Linked DNA regions of Homo sapiens: all the other regions are linked to region 1. Evidence: promoter capture Hi-C in 16 types of primary human blood cells and fetal thymus (Javierre and others, 2016). All regions are on one chromosome and are shown on one strand. The core of a region is centred on a gene start or on the middle of the fragment in contact, and the rest is flanking DNA. Distances in the headings are between cores, read along the strand shown.

Region 1 (3,408 bases), core at 909-3,408:
CAAAGGCCTGTCACATAATACCTGTGTGTGTCTTGAATGAACTCATCAGAACTTGGTTGTTTTTCCTCTACCTTGCCACCAAAGGCAGCAGTGGTTCACATCCTTGCATAGATTAGAATCACCTGGGAGGGAAGATTTTACAACCTACCAAGGGAGAGGGGAGGGGCCAAACCAATTAAATCAGAAATTCTGGGCTGACGCAGTGGCTCCTGTCTGTAATGCCAACACTTTGGGGGGCCGAGGTGGGCGGATCACTTGAGGCCAGGAGTTGGAGACCAGCCGGGCCAACAGCGCGAAATTAGCCAGGCCTGGTGGCGGGCGCCTGTAATCCCAGCTATTCGGGAGGCTGAGACACGAGAATCGCTTGAACTCGGCATGCAGAGGTTGCAGTGAACCGAGATCGCACCACGGCACTCCAGTTTGGGCGACGGAGCGAGACCCTGTCTTTAAAAAAAAAAAAAAAAAGGCCGGGAGCGGTAGCTCACGCCTGTAATCCCAGCACTTTGAGAGGCCGAGGCGGGAGGATCACGAGGTCAGGAGATCGAGACCATCCTGGCTAACACGGTGAAACCCCGTCTCTACTAAAAACACAAAAACTTAGCCGGGCGTGGTGGCGGGCGCCTGTAGTCCCAGCTACTCGGGAGGCTGAGGCAGGAGAATGGCGTGAACCCGGGAGGCGGAGGCTGCAGTGAGCCGAGATCGCGCCGCTGCACTCCAGCCTGGGCGACAGAGCAAGACTCCGTCTCAAAAGAAAAAAAAAAAAGAAAAACCCTCTGGAAGTGGGGCCCAGAAAAAGGCTCTTACAAAAAAAGTTTCCCAGATGCTGAAAATCAGATTTACATCCATGTTTCTCAAAACCAGGTGATATTCCACCTCACCTGGAAAGCTTAAAAAAAGAGACTCCCAAAGTTGAGAGTCGGCTACAGTAGGTTCTCTATGGAGACCCAAAACGTGTATTTAGGACATTTCCTAGGTGATTCTAAGGTGCCGATATAAGAGGCACTGTCGTATCTTAAGAGCAATCAAGGAACGACAGTTAAGGAACAGAGAGTACCTACTAGACACGGTGCTATGTGCTTTACGCACAGTGCCTGAACTGACCCTCGTATCAACCCATTTTACAGGTGAAAAAACCAAGATTAAACGTTATTTCAATGGCCCAAGGTCACACAGTTAAAGATGAAGGCTCTGCTGGGGTTTCCAAAACTTTCCCAGGAAATGATAGTGAAGCTATCTAGGACTGCTACTAAAAAATACTCCTGGCTAGGCGCAGTGGCTCACGCCTGTAATCTCAATTCTGGAGGCTGAGGCAGGTGGCCTGCTTGAGCCCAGTAGTTCGAGACCAGCCTGGGCAACATGGTGCGACCCTAGTCTCTACAAATACTTAAAAAATTAGTCGGGCATAGTAGTGCACGCTTGTAGTCCCAGCCACTCAAGAGGCTGAGATGAGAGGATTGTCTGAACCCAGTAGGTAGAGGCTACAGTGGGCTATGATGGCACCCCTGCACTCCAGCCTGGATGACTGAGCAATACCGGTCTGGACAAAACAAAACAAAACACAACAAAACTCCTATCCCTGCAACCCAGAGCCTGCAGGAGGGAGCTGAGCATGTGCGCTTTTTAAAACATCTTTATTTTTTGGCGGGGATGAGGCCGCTTTGCCCTCGCCGCGCCGCGCAGTGCTGCATCCTGAACAGCAGAGGGCGCGCCGGGAAGCCACCAGGTGACCCCCGCTGGACCCGAGGCCCACCAAGGGGGCCGGCCCCTACTGGGAACCCTGGACCCTTTTCCCTGAAGCTCCTTAACAGTTACTTTCACTTTGCACCGCACGCGCTGCGCTGGAGTGCGCGTCCTCCCCGCGCAGGTGGCGTCCGTGGGCTGTGCAGGGTCCCAGGTGCGTCCGCGGCCCCACTGCGGCCCCCTTACTTGGCGTAGTAAACCCAGCCGTCCTTGGTGGTTCTCTCCTCCCAGCCCGGAGGCAGCTCGTCCTCACTGTCCGTGTCGTCCAGCCCCGCGTAGCGCAGCGCTGCCATGGCTGACTGTGGAGGCACCTGGCCCCCCTATCGCCCGCTGCCGGGTCCACTCGCTCAGGAACTCACTCCCGCTCCAAACGAGACCCGCGCGCGTCGGGGCCCGACCGCTCACGCCTGCGCACTGCGCCCTCCAGGGGCCGCTCCGCCGACCACGAAGCTGAAATCCAGTCTCCGCAATATCGCGACGGCCGGCGTCAAAGGGGCAGGGCCTGGAGAGGAAGGCGGTGAAAGTGCCTAAGAGATCGCGCTGCCGCCGGGCTAGACAGCAAAGCCGGAGAGCGCTCCGAGGCGCTAGAGATAGAGCGGAGCCTTGTCAGCCTCCCCGCCGCAGGGAAGGGGCGTGCGCATCCAGTTTCGGGCCAGGACTCCGCCCGTTGCTGGGCGACCCGTAATCACTTCCGCGTTGTTCTGGCCAATCCTGCAGGAGCCCGGCAATTGGATATGGGAAATGTAGTCCAGGTGGCGCCTGACCAAAAAGCGGCGCCCGACTAAAAAGCGGCGCCCATGCTGTTGTCCTGGGCTTCTGTCTCTCCTTGCCTTGGGGTCTCGTGAAAGTCCGTGATCACAAACCTTCCAGGGCTTGCCAGCATTCGTGCTGATTCACAACCTTTGTTTTGCATATGAACACAATGTTAAAATATAACCTGGAGAACTTAAAACTGCTGATTCCTGATTTCCTGGTTTTAGAGAACTTTCTTTCAGCCAAAACACATAATAGAGACTGTGATAATAGAGACTGTTGTTTAATAGAGACTCATGATAATAGAGACTGATGATAATAGAGACTGATTGATAATAGAGACTGTTGATAATAGAGACTGATGTTTACGGAGCACTTAATGTGCGGTCCAGGCCAGAAATGCACAGACATCACATGTAGCTGACACCTTTGTGTAGTGGGCACAACTCAGACAGGGTAGCTAGGCCGGGCTCAGTGGCTCATGCCTGTAATCCAAACACATTAGGAGGCTGAGGCAGGAGGATCACTTGAGGCCAGGAGTTTGAGAACAGCCTGGGCAACATCGCAAGACCCCTGTCTTTACCAAAAATAATTATTTTTTTAGTTTGCCGGGCGTGGTAGTGCACATCGGTAGTCCCAGCTACTCATTGAGGCTGAAGGGGGAGGATCACTTGAGCCCAAGAAGTCGAGGCTGCAGTGAGCTATGATCGGGCCACTGCACTCCAGCATGGACGACAGAGAGAGCTGCTGTCTTTAAAAAACTGCCTCACCTTTAGAGAATTTCCTTTAGTAAGTCTGGAATAGGTCCAGAATCTGGAAAGAAAGGGAGGGAGGGAGGGAGGGAGGGAGGAAGGAAGGAAGGAAGGAAGGAAGGAAGGAAGGAAGGAAGGAAGGAAGGAAGGAAGGAAAATAAAA
Region 2 (3,408 bases), core at 577-3,076, 3.0 Mb before region 1:
TTTTTTTTTTTTTTTTTTTTTTTTTTGAGACGGAGTCTCGCTCTGTCGCCCAGGCCGGACTGCGGACTGCAGTGGCGCAATCTCGGCTCACTGCAAGCTCCGCTTCCCGGGTTCACGCCATTCTCCTGCCTCAGCCTCCCGAGTAGCTGGGACTACAGGCGCCCGCCACCGCGCCCGGCTAATTTTTTGTATTTTTAGTAGAGACGGGGTTTCACCTTGTTAGCCAGGATGGTCTCGATCTCCTGACCTCATGATCCACCCGCCTCGGCCTCCCAAAGTGCTGGGATTACAGGCGTGAGCCACCGCGCCCGGCCGTTTTTTTTGTTTTTGAGACGGAGTCTCACACTGTCACCAAGGCTGGACTGCAATGGCATGGTCTCGGCTCACTGCAACCTCCACCTCCCGGGTTCAAGTGATTCTCCTGCCTCAGTCTCCCAAGTAGCTGGGATTATAGGCGCCCACCACCACGCCCGGCTAATTTTTTTGTATTTTAGTAGAGACCATGTTGGCTAGGCTGGTTTCAAACTACTGACCTCAGGTGATCTTCCTGCCTTGGTCTTCCAAAGTGCTGGAATTACAGGCATGAGCCACCACGCCTGGCCCAGAGCTTATAATTGTTATCTGATACAGGGTACTTCACTGTCACTGGAACATTCTAAAGTTTTCATTTTGTTTTTTTCTGAGCCACAGCTAAGTTGCAAGAACATGGAGTTTTACTGAACCTACACACATCTGGCATTCAGGCACATCACCATTTGTTATTTACTGTGTCCAGGACACACAGATAGGTCCACTTTATTGAGACAATATATACCCTTCTCGTGGTTATTATAGCCTGACAAAACTTATGGTTTTATTTTTAATTAAAGAAATGTAGGCCAGGCACGGTGGCTCACGGTTATAATCCCAGCACTTTGGGAGGCTGAGGCGGGTTGATCACGAGGTCAGGAGTTCAAGACCAGCTTGGCCAACACAGTGAAACGCTGTCTCTACTAAAAATACAAAAATTAGCTGGGCGTGGTGGTGCGCGCCTGTAATCCTAGCTACTTGGGAGGCTGAGGCAGGAGAATGGCTTGAACCCGGGAGGCAGAGGTGGCAGTGAGCCTAGAACACACCATTGTACTGTAGCCTGGTGACAGAGCGAGACTCCGTCTCAAAAAAAAAAAAAAAAAAGAGCCAGGTGCAGTGGCTTATGCCTATAATCCCAGCACTTTGGGAGGCCGAGGCGGGCGGATCACGGCATCAGGAGATTGAGACCATCCTAGCTAACACAGTGAAACCCCGTCTCTACTACAAATACAAAAAATTAGACGGGCGTGGTGGCAGGTGGGCGCCTGTAGTCCCAGCTACTCGGGAGGCTGAGGCAGGAGAATGGCATGAACCCTTGGGAGGTGGAGCTTGCAGTGACGTGAGATTGCGCCACTGCACTCCAGCCTGGGCAACAGAGCGAGACTCCATCTCAAAAAAAAAAAAAAAAGAAATTTGGAATTTTAAAATCATAGCTGTATGACAGGAATCTACTTTTTCGTATTTTATGTTTTCAAGTAACTGACTTTTAACATTTCATGTTTTCTTTAATTTTTTTTCCACTTAGATGAGTTTGGTGCTTTGGAAAGTGTGAAAGCTGCTAGTGAACTCTATTCTCCTTTATCAGGAGAAGTAACTGAAATTAATGAAGCTCTTGCAGAAAATCCAGGACTTGTAAACAAATCTTGTTATGAAGATGGTAAGCTGTTGCTAGAAATTTCTCAAGGAATTACTACTACAGTAAATATTTTATCTAGAATTTAAAGCAAGTTTAGCTGATTGTGACTTCATCTTTTTCTACTTCTTGGTACTAAATAGAGATGTTCTGCTTTAAAAGAAAAACAGAGGTTAGTTGAATACTTAAAGTTATGTTTAAGATTTCTGGCTAGGCGCAGTGGCTCGCGCCTGTGATCCCAGCACTTTGGGAGGCCAAGGTGGGTGGATTGCTTTAGTCCAGGAGTTGGAGACCAGCCTGGGCAACATGGTGAAACTCTGTCTCTATAGAAATACAAAAATTAGCTGGCTGTGGTGGAATGTGCCTGTAGTCTCAGTTACTAGGGAGGCTGAGGTGGGAGAATTGCTTGAACCTGGGAGGTCAAGGCTGCAGTCTATAGTGAGCCAAGATCGCACCACTCCACTCCAGCCTGAGTGACAGAGCGAGACCTTCTCAAAAAAAGAAAAAAAAATCTCTGATGATAAAAGCATTACCTTATTTTGCAGTTTCTTGATATCAGTTGTAGATTCTTTGGTTTTGGTGTAAACATCTGCAAAGTATTTACTTTTTCAGACATAAAGCAGCCACTCATATTGTGTGACATGGGAGGTAAAAAAATATATATTTTGCATTAATTTTTGGTTTTCTCACATTTTCACCCTTATAATCTAATCAGGTAAGCTAACAGCAATTTTCTCTATTTTGTAGATGAATAGAGGCTCCAAAGGATTTATCTGTCAGGGTCTCATGGCTGATAAATGGCAAAGCTAGGATTAGGTTGTAGTTCTCTTTTGTCTGTCACCTAGCCCTTCTAATTACTACTGCTTTCTAATCCCGTTAACCTCAGTAGTTAGTGTTCCATTTGTTAAAGACATACCTGGTCTTGTGTATTTGGATCATATATTTAAGGACTTATTTTTATTATTTTTTTGAGACAGAGTCTCCCTCTGTCGCCCAGGCTGGAGTGCAGTGGCGTGATCTCGGTGCACTGCAACCTCCCCTTCTCGGGTTCAAGCACTTCTTCTGCCTCAGCTTCCCAGTAGCTGGGATCAAGGGCAACTGCCACCACGCCCAGCTAATTTTTGTGGTTTTGGTAGAGATGGGGTTCCACTATGTTGGCCAGGCTGGTCTAGAGCTCCTAGCCTCAAGTGATTTGCTTGCCTTCGCTTCCCAAAGTACTGGGATTACAGGCATGAGCCACCGTGCCCGGCCCTTAAAGATTTAAATGTCATTTTCTGATGCTTATTACAACCTAAGAGTTCTTAATTTATTATGGTGGAATCTATTCTAGCCATAATTATTTTCATTTGTTATATACAAGTATTTTAATTCTTAAGGCTAAAATTTAAAGTTCTATGAACAAATAATGTATGGTTTTTGTAAAGAATACAAGATTGAGGCGCTCAGAAATTTATTTTACGTTTTGGATGAATTTGACTTTTTAAAAAGTTAATGTGGAATATAAGGTTGTCTTTTGGTTGCAGGTTGGCTGATCAAGATGACACTGAGTAACCCTTCAGAACTAGATGAACTTATGAGTGAAGAAGCATATGAGAAATACATAAAATCTATTGAGGAGTGAAAATGGAACTCCTAAATAAACTAGTATGAAATAACGCAAGCCAGCAGAGTTGTCTTAAATTAGTGGTGGATAGAAGACTTAGAAT
Region 3 (3,408 bases), core at 270-2,769, 2.9 Mb before region 1:
TTCAGAAATTCTTTTTATTTTCTGGCTGGGTGCGGTGGCTCACACCTGTAATCCCAGCACTTTGGGAGGCTGAGGCAGGCAGATCACCTGAGGTCAGGAGTTCAGGACCAGACTAGCCAACATGATGAAACCTCCTCTCTACTAAAAATACAAAAATTAGCCAGGCGTGGTGGCAAACACCTGTAATCCAAGATACTCAGGAGGCTGAGGCACGAGAACCGCTTGAACCCAGGAGGTGGAAGTTGCAGTGCAGCAAGATGGCACCACTGCACTCCAGCCTCGGTGACAGAGGGAGACTCTGTCTCAAAAAAAAAATGGAAAATTTTTTTTTTTCTGCTTGATCTAGTCTGCTGTTGAAGCCCTCAATTGTATTTTTTATTTCATTCATTAAATTCTTCAGATCAGATTTCTGTTCTTTTTTAAAAATATCTGTCTCTCTTGAATTTCTCATTCAGATCAAGAATTATTTTGCTTATCTGTATTCTCTTGTGTCTTGCTGAGCTTCCTCAAGATCATTATTTTGAATTTCTTTTCAAGAAATTCATAAATTTCTATCTAACTTTGGGGTCAGTTATTGGAGAATTATCATGTTTCTTTGGTGGTGTCATATTTGTTTGCTTTTTCATGTTTCTTGTGTTCCTATGTTGATTTCTTTGCAGCTGATGGATCAGCTGCCTTTTCCAGTTCTATGCAGTGGCTTTCATAGGGAAAGGCTTTAATGTGCAGATGGGGCCTAAGTATCAGTTGAGTAAGGCACACTGGCTTTGGTTCTGTATGGGTACAGTAGTAGTGTGGTCTTCATGCAGGTTCTTCAGCTGTAATCAATGTCAGCAATGCCTGCAAGTGCCTCAGTGGCCTAGGCTGCAGTAGACTGTGTGGCTGGCATCCTGGGTTGAGTATGGCTCCTTTGTGGATGGAGTATCGGCTTTTTACATGCTGAGGGGATGCAGGGCTGGTCCACTGGCTTGAGCTTGGCTTCCCCACTGAGCAACACTTCCTGTTCCTTTGGAGGCAGGGCACTGCATGGGCCTGGGTGCTAGGGTCATGGCTGTTCTGCTAGGCCTAGGTTCTGAGTAGTTGAGTTCAGGACTGTGCTGCCGCGAGGATGGTTAAGATGGAGCAGCTCTTGGGCAGCTTGTTCCCAAGGAGTAGGGAGCTGTAGCCCCTCAGCTGGGGGATGCTGCACTGCTGTGTGTGAGATGGTGTAGTGATAGCAGAACCTCAGGAATGGAGAGATGCAGTGGTTACTGTCCCCTAGAGCAGTGGGTCCAGGTTGAAAATGGTGCCATGCTGTAGTAGCTTGGGTCACAATGTCGGCTTTTTCTCTGCAGTAATGCAGTCATGTGAATTCGAGGATGCTTTCTAAACTGGGCTCAGGGCTTGAGAGAACTGCAGGATTCTCCAGCAGAAAAGACTACAGGTGTCTGTGGTGGTAATGGGACCTGCTGGCGACCTTCTGCCTTCCTTTTCCCCCAGGCAGAAATCCATCTTGGTTCTGAGCTCATCCTGACTGGGGAGACGGGGTGGCAGAGCAGGGTATTTCACTCCCTTCTCTCTCTGGCCGTCCTGAGTCTCTGTGTGCCACAGGTTCTCTACCACTCCCCTGATATACTCCAGCATTTTTTCTTTTTTTTTTTTTTTTTTTGAGACAGAGTCTCACTTTGCCATCCAGGGTGGAGTACAGTGGTGCAGGCTTGGCTCACTGCAACCTCTGCCTCCCAGGTTCAAGCGATTCTCCTGCCTCAGCCTCCTGAGTAGCTAGGATTACAGGCATGCACCATCACGCCCAGCTAATTATTGCATTTTTAGTAGAGATGGGGTTTCACCATGTTGGCCAGGCCAGTCTCGAACTTCTGACCTCAGGTGATCCACCCGCCTCAGCCTCCCAAAGTGCTGGGATTACAGGCACGAGCCACCATGCCAGGCCTCATTTTCTTTTAGATACTCTAGTCAAAATGTATTCTATTTGTTGTTTTGGTCCTTTTCTGTGGGGGCAACAAGCATTAGGGACCTCTAGTCAGCCATCTGGCTGGTATTACCTGGAGTGTCTTTTCTAGGAAAATTGTCTGTTAGCATATTTTCATGAACAAAAGAAAAAACAATGAAAATAACTGGGTATTATTAAATAAAATCATTTTATCATATGGCTTTCAAAAGACAATGAGTGAAAACTTAAGGCAATACAATAAGTCATATTTATGAGTACGTTCAAGAATTCACAAAAAAGGGTACAATTCTGGCTTCTCTTTAATCATTAAATTTCAGTTTTTACAAATAATTCAGGTTCAGGTTTTGAGGGGGAAACAGTTCTTGTATTATTACATGCTCATTTTTCTTCTGTAAATGACTCTATTGGCTAGATTTACAAACATTGTCACAGAAACAAATTTTTTAAGCCATAGATCACTGCATTTATATTTACAAAAAAGCCATAAACATGCATTTCTCCTTTATTAGGACTTAAATAGATGCTTGAATATTAAGGCAGTGATGATTCTAAAACATAATGAAATTCTAAGTTAAGGCTTTATGTTTCTTTTGAAACCCACACTCATAGGCAACTGTGACCAAACCAAACTCTTACCTACTAGGTTGAGCTCATCTGCCCGGGATATGTTATTTATCCATTACCAACACTTCTTTTGTGTCAAATGTATGGGATAGGAATTAGTAGCAAAACCATCAATTTACTTTAATGAATCATTAGTCCCCTTACTAGGTTTTGAGGATTTAGCTTTCAGTAATACAGGCATGTGCCACAGAAAGGAGCATGTCGTGTGTGTGTGTGTGTGTGTGTGTGTGTGTCAATGTGGAGAACTTACAGGCTGCACTGATTCCTACTTGACTGGAACTTAGCCAACAATTAAGAATCCAGGATCTCCTAAATACAGAAAATCCCCAAAGCATACTTGATCATGCTCCTACCTCAAAACACACAAAGCATTCTTGATTATTGAAGCAATAGGTCTTCACCTTGTTTTCTTTGAAGACTGGTATTATTCACTTAAGAAAAAAAACCAAAATGCAGAATACCATATTTTAGATGAATCTATCCTATAATTGCTAGCCTCAAGGCACAAGTAATATCCTTGCTAGATACTTTTTCTTATTCAAAGAAAAGATAAAGAATGGTGAATGGAAGGAAATTCACTTTAAAATAATTGTAGATTGCACTCCTGCCCTATCAAGCTTAGTAGAAGTGCAAAGTATTGAAACCTAATGGGGGATGCCCTTTTCCCACTTTTTTTCTTGTTTAATTTTAGAGTGACAAAACTCAGATCCAGCTTGTGGATGCACTTGGGGAAACAGCTCCAGAGCCCCCAACTCTGGCCTACTGTGGAGACCAGAAAGGATCTTCATAGGACACACCCCAAGATGAAGTCATAGGCATGTTTCCATAACTCCCTG
Region 4 (3,408 bases), core at 1-2,500, 2.9 Mb before region 1:
ATATTTAGCTTCAAAAGATAATGTGAAGTTTCTCTAAAGAGAAAACAAATTCTAGTGTGATCAGGTGATTTGGAAGCTGAGATCTACAACACAGACTCCAGTGACTAATGAGTGGTATAAAACACAATACAATTATAAAAAGATGACTGTGAGGAATTTTTATTTTCCTTTCATGTTCACTAATTGCAAGCTTTCTTCATTTCGGTAATATCTAAAATGATCTCCTCTTGTCGGAGGTAGATTTTCCCAGTAGCTTCTAACTCCTGTGTCAAAGAGAAAATAAAGATTTACCTTTAAAGAGAGTCACTGATTGGCTCACCTGATTATACTGTTTAAAAACAATAGCCTTAAGAGAGTCCAGATACCGACTTCTCAGGTCCATTTTCACAATCTGATGGTGTTTGCTAGCAATTGTCAGCGCCTTGAAATGAAAATTTGCAAGACTATTACTAGGATTACTGCCTCTGTGTTTATAATACTTGTCAAAGTAAAATGTAAGAGCTGCAATTAGGGAATAGTTTCCCCGTAAGTGTAAAAAGAAGTCTAGAAAAACATCTGATAGCCTGTTACTGAGCTTCAAAAACAAAGTGGTTAATGGCATTAATACTCTGATAAATGCAGTCTTTTGTATCATTTCTTAGAAAAGCGATCCTGTTTAAAGTTAGGAGTTACTAATAAATCAAGTTCAGACTTTGGAATAAACAATAAATACTCAAAATGTTACTGTTTTTGAATATCAGTCATCTAATACCATAATGATATTGCCATACAAAAACGCAGATATGTATGCTTTTTGGCAAATACTGAAGAAATAAGTGTGTATTGAATACAGCTCATAAGAGTTTCCTGTCATTAGGGGAAAAGAAGACTGAAACAGAATTACTATGATAGGATAAGATGTTTAACCTGATCTAGAGAACAGACAAGTTTGCCTTAAGATACACAATAGAAATGAACATTAGTCCGCGCAGTGGCTCACGGCTGTAATCCCAGCGCTTTGGCAGGCCAAGGCAGGTGGATCACTTGAAGTCGGGAGTTTGAGACCAGCCTGGGCAACATGGTGAAACCCCACCTCCACTAAAAATAGAAAAATAAGTTAGCCAGGCATAGTGGTGAGTGCTTGTAGTCCCAGCTACTTGGGAGGCTGAGGCAGGAGAATCGCTTGAACCTTGGGGGTGGAGGGTGCAGTGAGCCAAGATCGCCCCACTGCACCCCACCCTGGGTGACAGAGTGAGACCCTGTCTCAAAAAAAAAAAAAGAACATTAGCCTTTGGGGTAATGTTTAAACTACCTGTGGCAAGGTGTACTCACCTGGCTATAAGTGGATGAAAGACCACTATGTATCATGGAGCAGGAGACCCCAAATGTAAAGAAGTGTTTTAAGGAAATAGAAGTGAGTAGCAGTCTTTGCCATTTCAATAAACCACCAAAAAACTTAAATGACAAGCAAGTAGTCATTTACTACCTAGGGCTCGCCTGGTCACAACAGTGGAGTCCTTGGTACTCCACACCGCACCTCCACCCCACTCTGCTGTGGAGTGACAGGACATGATGCAGCCAGGATGGTGGAGCTGCTCGCCTACAACCAGCTGATGTGGCAGCTCTGGAACCAATTGAAGGTGCCACTGAGGTTGTGAATGCTAACAGTGGTAGCAGCAAGTGCCAGGCCAATTTAGGGAGAACTAACTTTGGGGAAAGATGCTAGGAAGCCTGTGATATTAAAGGCAGAACCATAAAGAGAAGCAGGCTCGGAACAGAGGCTACATCTTATGTGAAAGCAGTCTCCTTGTGTATGGAATGTGGGAGAAATGGTTACAAATGAAAATAATGTTCATTAATAAGCAAATTATACAATTATGAAAAAGTAATGAGGTATATTCATTTGTAACCACGTGGAAATGTTATGTTAATTTTTTTTTTTTTTTAAGACGGAGTTTCTTTCTCGTTGCCCAGGCTGGAGTGCAATGGTGCGATATGGGCTCACTGCAACCTCTGCCTCCCGGGTTCAAGCAATTCTCCTGCCTCAGCCTCCCAAGTAACTGGGATTACAGGTGCCCACCACCACGCCTGGCTAATTTTTTTGTATTTTTAGTAGAGACAGGGTTTTACCATGTTGGCCAGGCTGGTCTCAAACTCCTGACTTCAGGTGATCCACCTGCCTCGGCCTCCCAAAGTATTGGGATTACAGACATGAGCACCGCGCCTGGCCTACCCTGGCTTTTCTAATAACCATCTTGTCAAAGGAAATAGCAAACTTTGACAGTAGTTATTTTGAACGAACGGAATAGGGAAAAGGGGTATGAAGCTTTGAAGACTTTTTATCTTTAGAGACTTCTGTATCGGTTGCATTTTTTTATATTAAGTATGCATTATTTCTAGATCAAAAAACAATAAAATATAGCTCCAATCTAATATCTTATGCCATGTTCCCATCTGCAGATAACAACACTCTGTTTCTTATTTTAGGAGAACAAGAATTACATGTGGTATTCTATATCTTTTTTTTGTTTTTTTAGAGGTGGGGTGTTGCTTTGTCTTGTGATCGCAGCTCACGGCAGCCTTGGACTCGTGGGCACGAGCAATCCTCCCACTTCAGCCTCCCAAGTAGCTGGGACCACAGGTACATGCCACTGCACCTGGCCTAGTATTCTCTATCAAATACTTATTCAACAGTTAAAATCTATATAGACCTTTGAGATAGGATAATAAAATATTATAGCTTGTAATAATTTTTTCCATACCTGACCCAGAAGCGGTGTATTGCGCCTCAGCATGGAGGAGGACGTGAAGGCGTACGGAGTCTGGGAGTAGTACACCACGTAGGTAGGTTTGTACTGGTTTGGCTTTGTGTACTGTGTTCCCCAGGCAATTCGAATCCAGACTGCATTCTCCTCAGTTTCTCTGAAGCTGACTGTCACCTTATTAAAGAAAAAAAAAAAAGGCTTAATTTCCTAATTAAAATTTCACTGTGGCACCAACTCCAGGTGCTTATTAGGGGTGAACAATGATGTCCCTATACTCTTGTATGCAGGTTGAGACCTGGCAGTCTTTTCTGCTTTTCATGAGTATTTTGAGAATCTTTGGGAAAACATTTTGTGATTTTAAAAAAAAAAAATCCTTTTCAGTTCTTTTTTTTTTTTTGAGACTAGGTCTTGCTCAGTTGCTCAGGCTGGAGTGCTGTGGCATGATCATAGCCTGCTCACGGCAGCCTCAACTTCCTGGGCTCAAGCAATCCCATCTCAGCCTCCCTAGTAGCTGAGACCACAGGCACGTGCCATCATGCCTGGCTAATTTTTTTAAAAAAGTTTTTTTTTGTAGAGGTGATTGTTTTTTCAATAATTTCTTGGGCTTGTCCTGAAAACTGTTCCTCCTTACGTAAGAATTTATGAGGTAAGGCAGCCTTACAAA
Region 5 (3,408 bases), core at 516-3,015, 2.9 Mb before region 1:
AAGGAAATGAAATTAAACCATTTTATTCTTTGACATAGTCATCTAGGCTAAGAAAGTAGAAGGGCCTTATAAATATATACAATTATTATTTGTCAATTCAAAGTAAAACTAAATAATGTGAATTAGAAGGGAAGACGTTTTATTGGTACCCTACCCTGATTGACAATAGCATATGTATTTGAGGTAAACTTGTTATAGAGGGAGGAAAATATGTACCATTTTATGTACTTAGGCTTATATACATCTTTGCATCTATTAATATTGTCTCAGTCAAGTGTCTTCTCAGGTATTTGTCAATTAAAGAAATCATTTCAGTACATCATAAGCTTGTTTCTGAATTGTAAAGGCACACATTTGAGTGCCGGTTGATAGAAATGTGCAAAAATATTTTGTCAAATACATTTAGAAAATGTTAGAGACATTTTCTAGTGATTAAACCAGTGTCTGTTTTCTGTTATTGTTGTTTTTGAGATGGAGACTTGCGCTGTTACCCAAGCTGGAGGTCAGTGGTGCCATCTTGGCTCACTGCAACCTTGCCTCCCAGGTTCAAGTGATTCTCCTGCTTCGGCCTCCCAAGTAGCTGGGATTACAGGCGCCCACCAACACGCCCAGCTAATTTTTTGAATTTTTAGTAGAGATGGGGTTTCGGCATGTTGGCCAGGTTGGTCTTGAACTCTTGACTTCAGGTGATCCACCTGCCTCAGCCTCCCAAAGTGCTGGGATTACAGGTGTGAGCCACCGCATCTGGCCTATACCAGTGTATGTTTTCTTTAGGAAAAAATAAGGCAGAAACCAGAAAACTAACACTTCACATAAATGTAGGTGCAGAATATTGGTACGATATTGGATAACTTAAATTGCTGAACTGTATGAAACTTAATTTTTCTAAGGCAAAAATTGATATCATTGGAAGGATCTTGGAGTCAGTGGCAGGCAAACAAAATTTAAACTTGGCTGCATTTTCTTTTTTCGTTTCAAATGAATACTTAACTAGGTGCAATGGCTTTATTTGTGGTCTTCAGCTGTGGTGTGTGTGTGTGTGTGTGTGTGTTTAGTAGTTACTGAATAGTACAGGGACCTACTGCATTTTTATAAGTTGCAATTGAAATAGTAGCTATGCTATAATCCTTTGGAATTATTTGTTCAGACAGTTTTTTGTTTCTGTTGAGTGGGAGGTGGATGGGCAGTTTGAATTTCTCACAGGTTTTTTTTTAACAGCTTGAGGTATAATTTACATACCATAAAATTCGCATGGTGAAATGCACGTAACATAAAATTTACCATCTTAACCATTTAAATGCACAGTTCAGTGGTATCAGATACATTAATAATGTTGTGCAACCATCACCACCGTCCATCTCCATAATACTTTTTATCTTGTAAAACTGCTTGTTAAACAGTAACTCCCCATTCATCTCCTCCTGCCCTTCCACCTCCCTCTGGTAACCACCATTCCACTTTCCGTCTCTTTGATTTTGACTACTTTAGGTGCCTCGTATAAGTGGAATGTTAAAGTATTTGCCTTTTAAAAAATATATAATTTCAAATTTTATTTCAGATTTTGGATATAAGTAATGTGCAGGTTTCTTACATGGGTACATTGGATGACACTGAGGTTTGGGGTACTGTTGATCCCATCATGCAGGTAAGTGAGCATAGTACCTAATGGTTTTTCAGCCCTTACCCTCCTTCTACCGTCTATTAGTCCCCAATGTCTTTTGTTGCCATCTTTATGTCTGTGAGTATCCAGTGTTTAGCTCCCACTTATAAGTGAGAATATGCCATATTTGGCTTTCTGTTGCTGCGTTAATTCACTTAGGATAATGGCTTCCAGCTGCATCCATGTTGCTGCAAAGGACATAATTTCGTCCTTTTTTATGGCTGTTTAGTATTCCATGGTGTATATGTACATATTTTCTTTATCCAATCCATTACTGATAGACACTTAGGTTGATTCCATATCTTTGCTATTGTGAATAGAGCTACAAAGAACTTATGAGTGCATGTTTTTCTTTTTGTAAAACGGTTTATTTTCTTTTGGCTATATACCCAGTAATGGGATTGCTGGATCTAGTGGTAGCTGTTTTAAGCTCTTTGAGAACTCTCCAGACTGCTTTCCACAGTGGGTGAACTAATTGACATTCCCACAACAGTGTATAAGCATTCTCTTTTCTCACAACCTCCCCCAGCATCTGTGTTTTTTTGACTTTTTAGTAATAGCCATTCTCACTGATGTGAGGTGATATCTCATTGTGGTTTTGATTTGCATTTCTCTGATGATTAGTGATGTTGAGCATTTTTTCATGTTTTTTGGCCACTTGTATATCTTTTGAGAAGTGGCTGTTGATGTCTTTTGCCCACTTTTTTTTAAAATTTGTTTATTTGTTTTGTTTTTTCGAGACGGAGTCTCACTCTGTTACCTAGGCTGGAGTGCAGTGGCGCCATCTTGGCTCACTGCAACCTCCGCCTCCTGGGTTCAAGCGATTCTCCTTCCTCAGCCTCTCGAGTAGCTGGGACTACAGGCGCCCGCCACCACACCCGGCTAATTTTTGCATCTTTAGTAGAGATGGGGTTTCACCATATTGGCCAGGCTGGTCTCGAACTCCTGACCTTGTGATCTGCCTGCCTTGGCCTCCCAAAGCGCTGGGATTACAGGTGTGAGCTACCGTGCCCAGCCTTTTGCCCACTTTTTAATGGGATTATTTATTTTTTACTTGTTGAATTAATTTCTTTATAGATTCTGGATATTAGACCTTTGTTGGATGCATAGTTTGTGAATATTTTGTCCTATTCTGTAGGTTGTCTTTATTCTATTCATAGTTTCTTTTGCTGTTTTGAGATCTTTAATTAGGTTTCAGTTTTTGTTGTAATTGTGTTTGAGTACTTAGTCCTAATTCTCTTCCGAAGGTGAATGTCCAGAATGGTGTTTCCTGGGTTTTCTTCTAGGATTCTTATAGTTTGAGGCATTCTGTGTAAATCTGTAATCTATCTAGAGTTAATTTTTGTATATGATGAAAGGTAGGGGTCCACTTTTATTCTTCTGCATATAGCTAGCCAACTATCCCAGCACCATTTATTGAATGGGAAGTCCTTTTGCCATTGCTTATTTTTGTTGACTTTGTCAAAGATCAAAAGTGTGTGGCTTTATTTCTGGGCTGTTATGTTCCATTGGTCCATGTGTGTGTTTTTGTAGGAGAAGCTTGCTGATTTGGTTATTGTAGCCTTATAGTCTGAAGTAGGGTAATGTGATACGTTTGGTTTTTGTTCTTTTTGCTTAGGATTCTTTTGGCTATTTGAGCCCCTTTTTGGTTCCATATGAATTTTTGGATAGTTTTTTCTAATTGTGTGAAAAAATGCCATTGGTAGTTTGATAGGAGTAGTGTTGAATATGTAGATTGCTTTGGGCAA
Region 6 (3,408 bases), core at 328-2,827, 2.7 Mb before region 1:
TAAGAACAATTAAGAAGTGCTAAGTGTACATTAGCATATATATTTCTGACTGTAAAGTTGTTATGTGGGTAAAAAGTAGCATATTGATTTAAGAAAAATATTGGAATATCCAGTGTATGTTGACTGGCCTTGAAAGGAAAAAAAGAAAACAGATTTCATTCTAAATTATGAGACCTGTTTATTACTTTCATTAAATATTATACTAAAGTGTACATAAAATGGCTTCTCGCAATCTCTACTCAAGAAACCACGTTTTTAGTGGGCCAAGAGTTCTTACGTTTGTAATTGATATATTTCACCTGTGTGTCTGCTGACATTATCTTTGAGCCTTTATGGTGAAGTGTGATTTGGATTGTAGAGATTCTTCATCTTTTCTTTGGCATTTCAGACAATTAAGTTGTAAAGAGTGAACCTCCATAAAGCAGTTGTTAGGAATAGGTGCTGATTTTTAAAGACACCAGAAAACGAAAACTTTGTTTATGTAATAGCACTCTTCAATCATAGTGAAGAAATAAGAAATCAAGCTCAGGTTCCAAAATCTTGGATCTTGATAGATAGTTCTGGTTTGTTTCTCCTGTAGTGGAGTTCTCATCATCTTCTGGTGCATTGTAGCCATCACTTATAGGAAGGTGATTTTAAATTTTGGGTTATGTCTTAGAGTCAGGTATCTGTCTGGATCGAAAGTGAAATTTCTTAGCCAGATGCCCTGGTCTATATTCGGCTAAACATAGGGGCCATGGAGTGGCAGCCTGTGAGCCAGGTCTAGGCTGCATACGCATTTTGACTTGGCTCAATGGTAGATAAGAAAAACGATTTGAACACTTTTAGATGGAGCATATGATCTCTAGCTTGTCCCTGTCCCCTTGCTCCCTATTACCAGGCACCCATTCTTCTTAAATCATTCACTGGGCTCCAGTAGACTTTAGAGTTTGCAACCTGATTCTAGTCAATCTTTTGCTAAGATGTTTGGGTGTCAGGAAGAAATAATCAGTGGGATAGGCTCTCAGTTTTCTTGTCTCTCTCTGGGTTTCTACCTGCTTGTACGTTCAATTACTTGTTGACTGAATCAGTGAGCAGAAGACTGGTTTAAGTATATAAAGTACCCTTGTGTGACCTTCGTTGTCCTTCTGTTGAGTGTTACCCTCTATTGTCTTTTTCTTTCCCAAGCTCATGGCCTCTTGGTGGTGGTAAAACCGTGTGTAGGGGTGGCTCAGTTCTCTCTCTGTAGGGAAGTGTCCACAACTATCCATTTTTTTTTGGATCTTTTCGGTTTGTGGTTGGTTGAATCCACAGATGTGGAACCCATGGATATGGAGGGCTGACTCTATCTGCACCTGGCATTCTGCAAAATCACGCACCACTAAGAATAACAGAGTTTATGGGAAAAACAGGATTGAGGCAGACCGCTAAAGAGCTGTGGAACTTTTTTTGCAAGTTGGTCTAGCCTTTGCCGTGTCCACATTGAGCTTTGCTTCCCTCTTGTCTCTGTGGATTGCACAGGGCATTTGCTTCTAAGAGAGACGATTTTATTGAAATTAAGTCTGATCCAGGGTGTAGCCTTCTTCGTTTATCTGTATAAGGAGAAATGTTTTCATAGCTGTTCTTGCAGTTTTGCCATGAGGTCAACATAGTGGAAAGCATAGTGGTTCTTGAAGCTAGAAAATCAGCCACTATTCATGTTAAAGAAAGGCACTTGAGTGCATTTCCAGCTTTGTTCTGAGGTCTTCACACATTGTTAAGTCTTTCTCTTTCCCTGTGAGAGTGCTTACCTTGATTGCTGCAAAGTATAAACAAGCTAGGAAAAACTGCATATGAACCCACACAGACGTCATTCCTCTATTTACGAATCACACCTGAGGTCATTCCTGTCAAAGAAATACATGTACTAGCAGAACTGATGGTCTGTGGTACAGCTTCTTGAATCTCTGTACCAGTATTTGAAGAGGCAGCTATCTTCAGAGAAAATGTTATCAGTTGGATTGGATTGATTCTTGGGCACGTAGAAGACACCTGATGAATATGGAATGAGTATATGATTCTCCCACCTCTTGAAAGTTATTTTAAATTATTCCCTCTGGGCAGGCATCAGCTTATTTTCAAGTAGGCTTTTATGTCAGGTCATTCCTTAGTGCATGAGATAATTTCTTCAGGGGCTTAAGCTGTCCTAGTAAGGAGTTGATACGGCTCCTTGCAGCCTGGCCAATTGCTAAGAAGTGGTTCAGGCCTGGTGATTATTAAAGATCTTTGTATTGGAGGCATGCATTTAGATTACCAAGATTTGGATCCTTCTGTTTCTCTCAGATGGTGAAAAGAAGTGTGGGTGTGGTTGAATTCATAGCACCATCATTCATTTGTTATTTCATATTTATAGACCACCAAATATATGAGAGGCACTTGGGGAACAATGATGATCACGTCCTCCAGGAGCCCAGTGGGAGATATAGTTAAGAAAACAAGTATTTTACGGTACAGTGGGGAAGTGTTAATAGGGATGATGGTGTTCTCTAGGAGTTGCTTGAGAATATTATCTTTTCTGTTTTTGAAAGCATCTCTAAAAAATGAAAGCAAAAAAGAAATAATATCTAAGAGAACTATTGTTATATATTTAGCATGTAATTGATGTTCAATAAATACTAATGTGATATCTGAATTAATTAAAATGTTAGCTTTTGGGGGTAGTTACAAAAGTAGGACTGGGTTTGTTTTCTACACATGTTTATGTAATTTAAAAAAACCAAATCGGGATACTGGGTACATATTCTTTGTAACCTATTTTATTTTCACTTAAATATCTATATATCTATATATATCTATATATAGATAATGTAGGTAAGCATTTTCTCAAATGCTAAAATATTATTTTGTGTTATGAGTTTTAAATGACAGTTTAATTTTCCCTTGAATGTACCATGTTTTCTATAACTAATCCCCTGTTATCGGACATCTAGATAGTTTCCATTTGTAAACCATTATAAATATTGATGTTATGAACATCCATAAACACAATTATGTATTTGCATATCTTACTAGTTTCTTCAGCATAAACAATTTCATATACAGTGAAATTGCTGTATAAAGTTGGCCGTTGGACAATACTTGGATTAGGGGCACTGATCCCCTTTGATGTTGAAAATTCACATATAACTTTTGACTTCCCAGAAACTTAACTACTAGTAGCATACTGTTGACTGGAAGTCTTACTGATAACATAAACAGTTGATGAACATATATTTGTATGTTATATGTAGTATATACTCTATTCTTACAATAAAGTAAGCTAAAGTGGAGAAAATTTTATTAAGAAAAATCATAAGGAATAGAAAATATATTTTCTGTTCATTAAGTGAAGTAGATAATCATAAAAGTCTTCCATCTTCATGGCATTCCCATTGTGTAGACTGAGGAGGA
Region 7 (3,408 bases), core at 417-2,916, 2.7 Mb after region 1:
GGCCGAGGCAGGCGGATCATGAGGTCAGGAGATCAAGACCATCCTGGCTAACACGGTGAAACCCCGTCTCTACTGAAAATACAAAAAATTATCCAGGCGTGGTAGTGGACGCCTGTAGTCCCAGCTACTCGGGAGGCTGAGGCAGGAGAATGACGTGAACCCGGGAGGCGGAGCTTGCAGTGAGCCGAGATTGCGCCACTGCACTCCAGCCTGGGCGACAGAGCGAGACTCCGTTTCAAAACCAAACCAAAACAAAACAAACCCAAACAAACAAAAAACAAAACAAAACAAAACAAAAAACCCTTGAAGGCAAGGTTTCTGCCCTGGAGACAGTGTTCAGCTTCTGGGATGAAGCAGTTGTGGAACCAATCAGACATCATCCACACTTTTTTGTTCCACCTCCAATAGACTGGCAGATGGTTCACGTATTTCCCGTTAAGTGCTTGTGGATTTTGGGTTCTTTACACCATTAGGAGTTTGCACTTTAGTCGCTCTTGGCATTGGCGCACAATAACAAGGGTGCATGATCCTGGCATGATTTAAAGCCAGGGGCTTTGGAGGCCGTTTGCATTATATAGGTTCGTTTGCCAACATCCTTGTAAAATAAGCCAGTCTCATCCGCATTGAAAACCTGCTCTTTCACATAACCCTTTTCCTGTATAACACTTAGCAAGTATTTTTAAAATTCTTCCGCAGCCTCCTGATCTGCAGAGCTCGCCTCACCTGCAAGTTTAACATTTTTCACCCCGTATCGCCTTTTGAAACGCGCGAGCCGGCCAGCACTCGCCGAGAAGGGCTTAGCATTTCTTTGACTCTGGGTAACGTGACCACAGATATCTTTGGCTTTCAGCCTCACCACAATGCTGTCCACTATGTTTTTTTTAATCGATTGACATCTCATGAATCCACAAATTTAGCCGCTTTTCCATCTTTTCCATCTTTGTCATAGCTTCATCACGCACGATGGAGGTCACTTCAGCACTATCCGGAGCGGCCTCACGGACAGATCGGTGAATTTCCTTTTCCTTTTTCTTGATGTACCGGATTGTCGACTCGTTAACATTGAGCTCATGGCCAACAGCACTGTAACTCATGCCTGATTGGAGCTTATCCAACACGCGGACTTTCTCCGTAAGGCACATCACGGTCTTCTTTCGCTTAGGAACACTGGGCAGAGCTTAAGCACTACGCTTGGGGGCCATTTTAGAAAGCAAAACCACCCACAAAAAGCAGAAAAAAAAGTGTCAGTAAACAGACTGCGGAAAGGACTCTTTGTTTACAGCACAGGAGCTGCGACTAGAAGGCGGCGCTTCTCCCAGTTCAAACTTCAGCTGGGAACCTTACCTCCGCCAACTCCAAATTTTCACCCTCTGCGCATGCCCGGGAAGAACCCCAGACAGTACCGTGATGATTGATTTTAGGGTTACAAATACATTTTAGCAAGTAAGTGAATTTGGCATTACGAATTAATGATTAATGAAGGTCACCTGTATTTCCATAGATATGTAATTTTATTTAAGCAGGTTTATTATATTAAGGCGGCGAGGCAGCGCCGAAGACTACAAGTTCCAGCATGCACCGCGTCCGGGCGGGTTCGGGCTCCCAGCGAGGGCTTCAGGGACGCCAGCCCGGAGGCATCGGCCGGAAGTGTCGTAGGGCAACCACGTAGTACTCTCTGCGCATGTGCAAAGCGCTGTCGGGGGCCGCCCTAGCTGCCGTCGCCGCCGCCGGGGCTCTATGGTCTCTCCCTAGAGCTTTGCCGTTGGAGGCGGCTGCTGCGGTCTTGTGAGTTTGACCAGCGTCGAGCGGCAGCAACATGGAGGAATTCGACTCCGAAGACTTCTCTACGTCGGAGGAGGACGAGGACTACGTGCCGTCGGGTGAGCGATTCCGCCTGAGGCGAGAAGCGAATTGCCCCGCCCCACGCCTCACGTGAGGCGCGCTCTGCCCCCGCGGGCGTCTGCCCTGTGGCCCAGGTGGTCCAGGGGGGCTCCTGTTCTCGAGCGTCCGCTCCCTCAGGCCCCTCATCCTCGGCCGCTCCGGCCCGAGGCGTGTGCGCGTGGCGGTTCTGTGCTCCCCTCCCGTTGGGCAGCTCCGGCCGCCGCCCCCTCTTGCAGCGCGGGAACCGGCACATGGACACGGCCCCTTGTCGCTAGGGACGCTCGTCGGTCAGCCCCGAACGACACCGCTGCTTCAGAAGTCGGGGCGGCAGTCCGAGCCTTGGAGGTTTTTTTCAGCCCTGGCCCGAGAGAGCTGCTGGCCACCACCCCGTCCAAGATAGAGCTGTCCGCTCTCCGCCTGGTTGTTAGAAAGTTCTGATAGAAAGTTCCCCCTTTGATGCTTTTTGCCTCATTGTGACGTCCACCCATCCTCTCCTCTCAGAACTTTCTTTCCTTAGGGATCTCAACCCGAACGGGGTGAGAATGAATCTTACTGAAGAAATCTTTCTGTTCCCCCTTCTTGGTCTTCCCCAGACAAACCGTCTCGTTGAAAGTATCTTCACCCATTCACATCTTCAGTTGAAAGACTAGACAAACAAGAAACAAACAGACTAACAAAACACAACCCAGGAGTCGTCCCTATTCTCTTTGTTTTACTTTGTTCTGTTCTGTTTTATTTAAAGACAGGGTCTTGCTGTTGTCTAGGCTGGAGTGCAGTGATGCGATCTTGGCTCACTGCAACCTCAGACTCCTGGGCTCAAGCGATCCTCCCGTCTCAGCCTCTGGAGTAGCTGGGACTGCAGGTGCAGGCTGCCACGCCCGCTAATTTTTTAAATTTTTTTTTTTTTTTTTTTTTTTAGAAATGGCATCTTGCTATGTTGCCCAGGCTGGTCTCGAACTCGTGGGCTCAAGTGATCCTCCCACCTCAGCCACCCAAAGTGCTGGGATTACAGGCATGAGCCACCGCGCCCCGGCTAGTGAAGTATTTCTAAAAGGCACGTTGAAAACTAGCCATTCCATTCCTGGCGCGGTGGCTCATGCTTGTAATCCCAACACTTTGGGAGGCTGAGGTGGGTGGATCACAAGGTCTGGAGATCGAGACCATCCTGGACAACATGGTAAAACCCCGTCTGTACTAAAAACACAAAAATTAGCTGGGCATGGTGGCACGCGCCTGTAGTCCCAGCTCCTCAGGAGGCTGGAGCAGGAGAATCGCTTGAACTCGGGAGGTGGAGGTTGCAGTGAGCCGAGATCACACCACTGCACTCCAGCCTGGGTGACAGAGCGAGACTCCGTCTCAAAAAAAAAAAAAAAAAAGTTAGCCAGTCCCATCACCCTCATCCCTATTTTATTTAATATTCCTCAGGAGAAACTTCTTTCCACCTTTTGAATTTGGTATTATATTTCTGTTGTCTATTGATTTAACCCATGTATAGTAGGTATCATTTTTAGTAGCCCCTGACCTCCT

Evidence for each region. The method cuts DNA at HindIII sites, captures the fragments that hold promoters and counts their contacts. A CHiCAGO score of 5 or more calls a contact.
Region 2: a contact is called between a fragment that was not itself captured here and the fragment with the promoter of WWOX in region 1, in 7 of 17 cell types (non-activated CD4 T cells, activated CD4 T cells, naive CD8 T cells and 4 more). The highest score is 20.3, in non-activated CD4 T cells.
Region 3: a contact is called between a fragment that was not itself captured here and the fragment with the promoter of WWOX in region 1, in 3 of 17 cell types (naive CD8 T cells, non-activated CD4 T cells and total CD4 T cells). The highest score is 8.9, in naive CD8 T cells.
Region 4: a fragment that was not itself captured here is called in contact with the fragment with the promoter of WWOX in region 1 in 6 of 17 cell types (total CD4 T cells, activated CD4 T cells, naive CD4 T cells and 3 more); the score reaches 8.4 in total CD4 T cells.
Region 5: a contact is called between a fragment that was not itself captured here and the fragment with the promoter of WWOX in region 1, in 10 of 17 cell types (non-activated CD4 T cells, naive CD8 T cells, total CD4 T cells and 7 more). The highest score is 31.7, in non-activated CD4 T cells.
Region 6: a contact is called between a fragment that was not itself captured here and the fragment with the promoter of WWOX in region 1, in 6 of 17 cell types (activated CD4 T cells, non-activated CD4 T cells, total CD4 T cells and 3 more). The highest score is 19.0, in activated CD4 T cells.
Region 7: a contact is called between the fragment with the promoter of CFDP1 here and the fragment with the promoter of WWOX in region 1, in 5 of 17 cell types (activated CD4 T cells, naive CD4 T cells, monocytes and 2 more). The highest score is 8.5, in activated CD4 T cells.

The regions. Positions count from the first base shown.
Region 1 is chr16:78,098,404-78,101,811 of GRCh38, reverse strand. WWOX (WW domain containing oxidoreductase) reads right to left here and starts at 2,158. Exons shown (of 9, transcript NM_016373.4): 1 at 1,927-2,158. The coding sequence starts at 2,033. RefSeq lists an enhancer at 1,425-1,924. The HindIII fragment of the contact is 3,217 bases long and covers 889-3,408 here.
Region 2 is chr16:81,082,781-81,086,188 of GRCh38, reverse strand. GCSH (glycine cleavage system protein H) reads left to right here. Exons shown (of 5, transcript NM_004483.5): 4 at 1,595-1,726; 5 at 3,226-3,408. The coding sequence ends at 3,323. Among named protein-coding and RNA genes, the nearest start is that of C16orf46, 7.2 kb to the right of the region's middle. The HindIII fragment of the contact is 4,810 bases long and covers 1-3,408 here.
Region 3 is chr16:81,046,059-81,049,466 of GRCh38, reverse strand. It overlaps ATMIN (ATM interactor), which reads right to left. Exons shown (of 4, transcript NM_015251.3): 4 at 2,117-3,408. Among named protein-coding and RNA genes, the nearest start is that of CENPN-AS1, 7.5 kb to the right of the region's middle. The HindIII fragment of the contact is 3,345 bases long and covers 1-3,191 here.
Region 4 is chr16:81,019,610-81,023,017 of GRCh38, reverse strand. It overlaps CENPN (centromere protein N), which reads right to left. Exons shown (of 11, transcript NM_001100624.3): 6 at 2,742-2,918; 7 at 320-421. It overlaps CENPN-AS1 (CENPN antisense RNA 1), which reads left to right. Exons shown (of 4, transcript XR_007065134.1): 4 at 2,517-2,726. Among named protein-coding and RNA genes, the nearest start is that of CENPN, 14 kb to the right of the region's middle. The HindIII fragment of the contact is 2,115 bases long and covers 193-2,307 here.
Region 5 is chr16:80,999,485-81,002,892 of GRCh38, reverse strand. All of the region lies in intron 1 of CMC2 (C-X9-C motif containing 2), which reads left to right. Among named protein-coding and RNA genes, the nearest start is that of CMC2, 5.7 kb to the left of the region's middle. The HindIII fragment of the contact is 2,873 bases long and covers 329-3,201 here.
Region 6 is chr16:80,798,425-80,801,832 of GRCh38, reverse strand. All of the region lies in intron 1 of CDYL2 (chromodomain Y like 2), which reads left to right. Among named protein-coding and RNA genes, the nearest start is that of CDYL2, 4.5 kb to the left of the region's middle. The HindIII fragment of the contact is 5,077 bases long and covers 1-3,408 here.
Region 7 is chr16:75,431,761-75,435,168 of GRCh38, reverse strand. CFDP1 (craniofacial development protein 1) reads left to right here and starts at 1,666. Exons shown (of 7, transcript NM_006324.3): 1 at 1,666-1,880. The coding sequence starts at 1,817. RefSeq lists enhancers at 1,060-1,627, 1,171-1,680 and a silencer at 1,991-2,230. The HindIII fragment of the contact is 10,360 bases long and covers 1-3,408 here.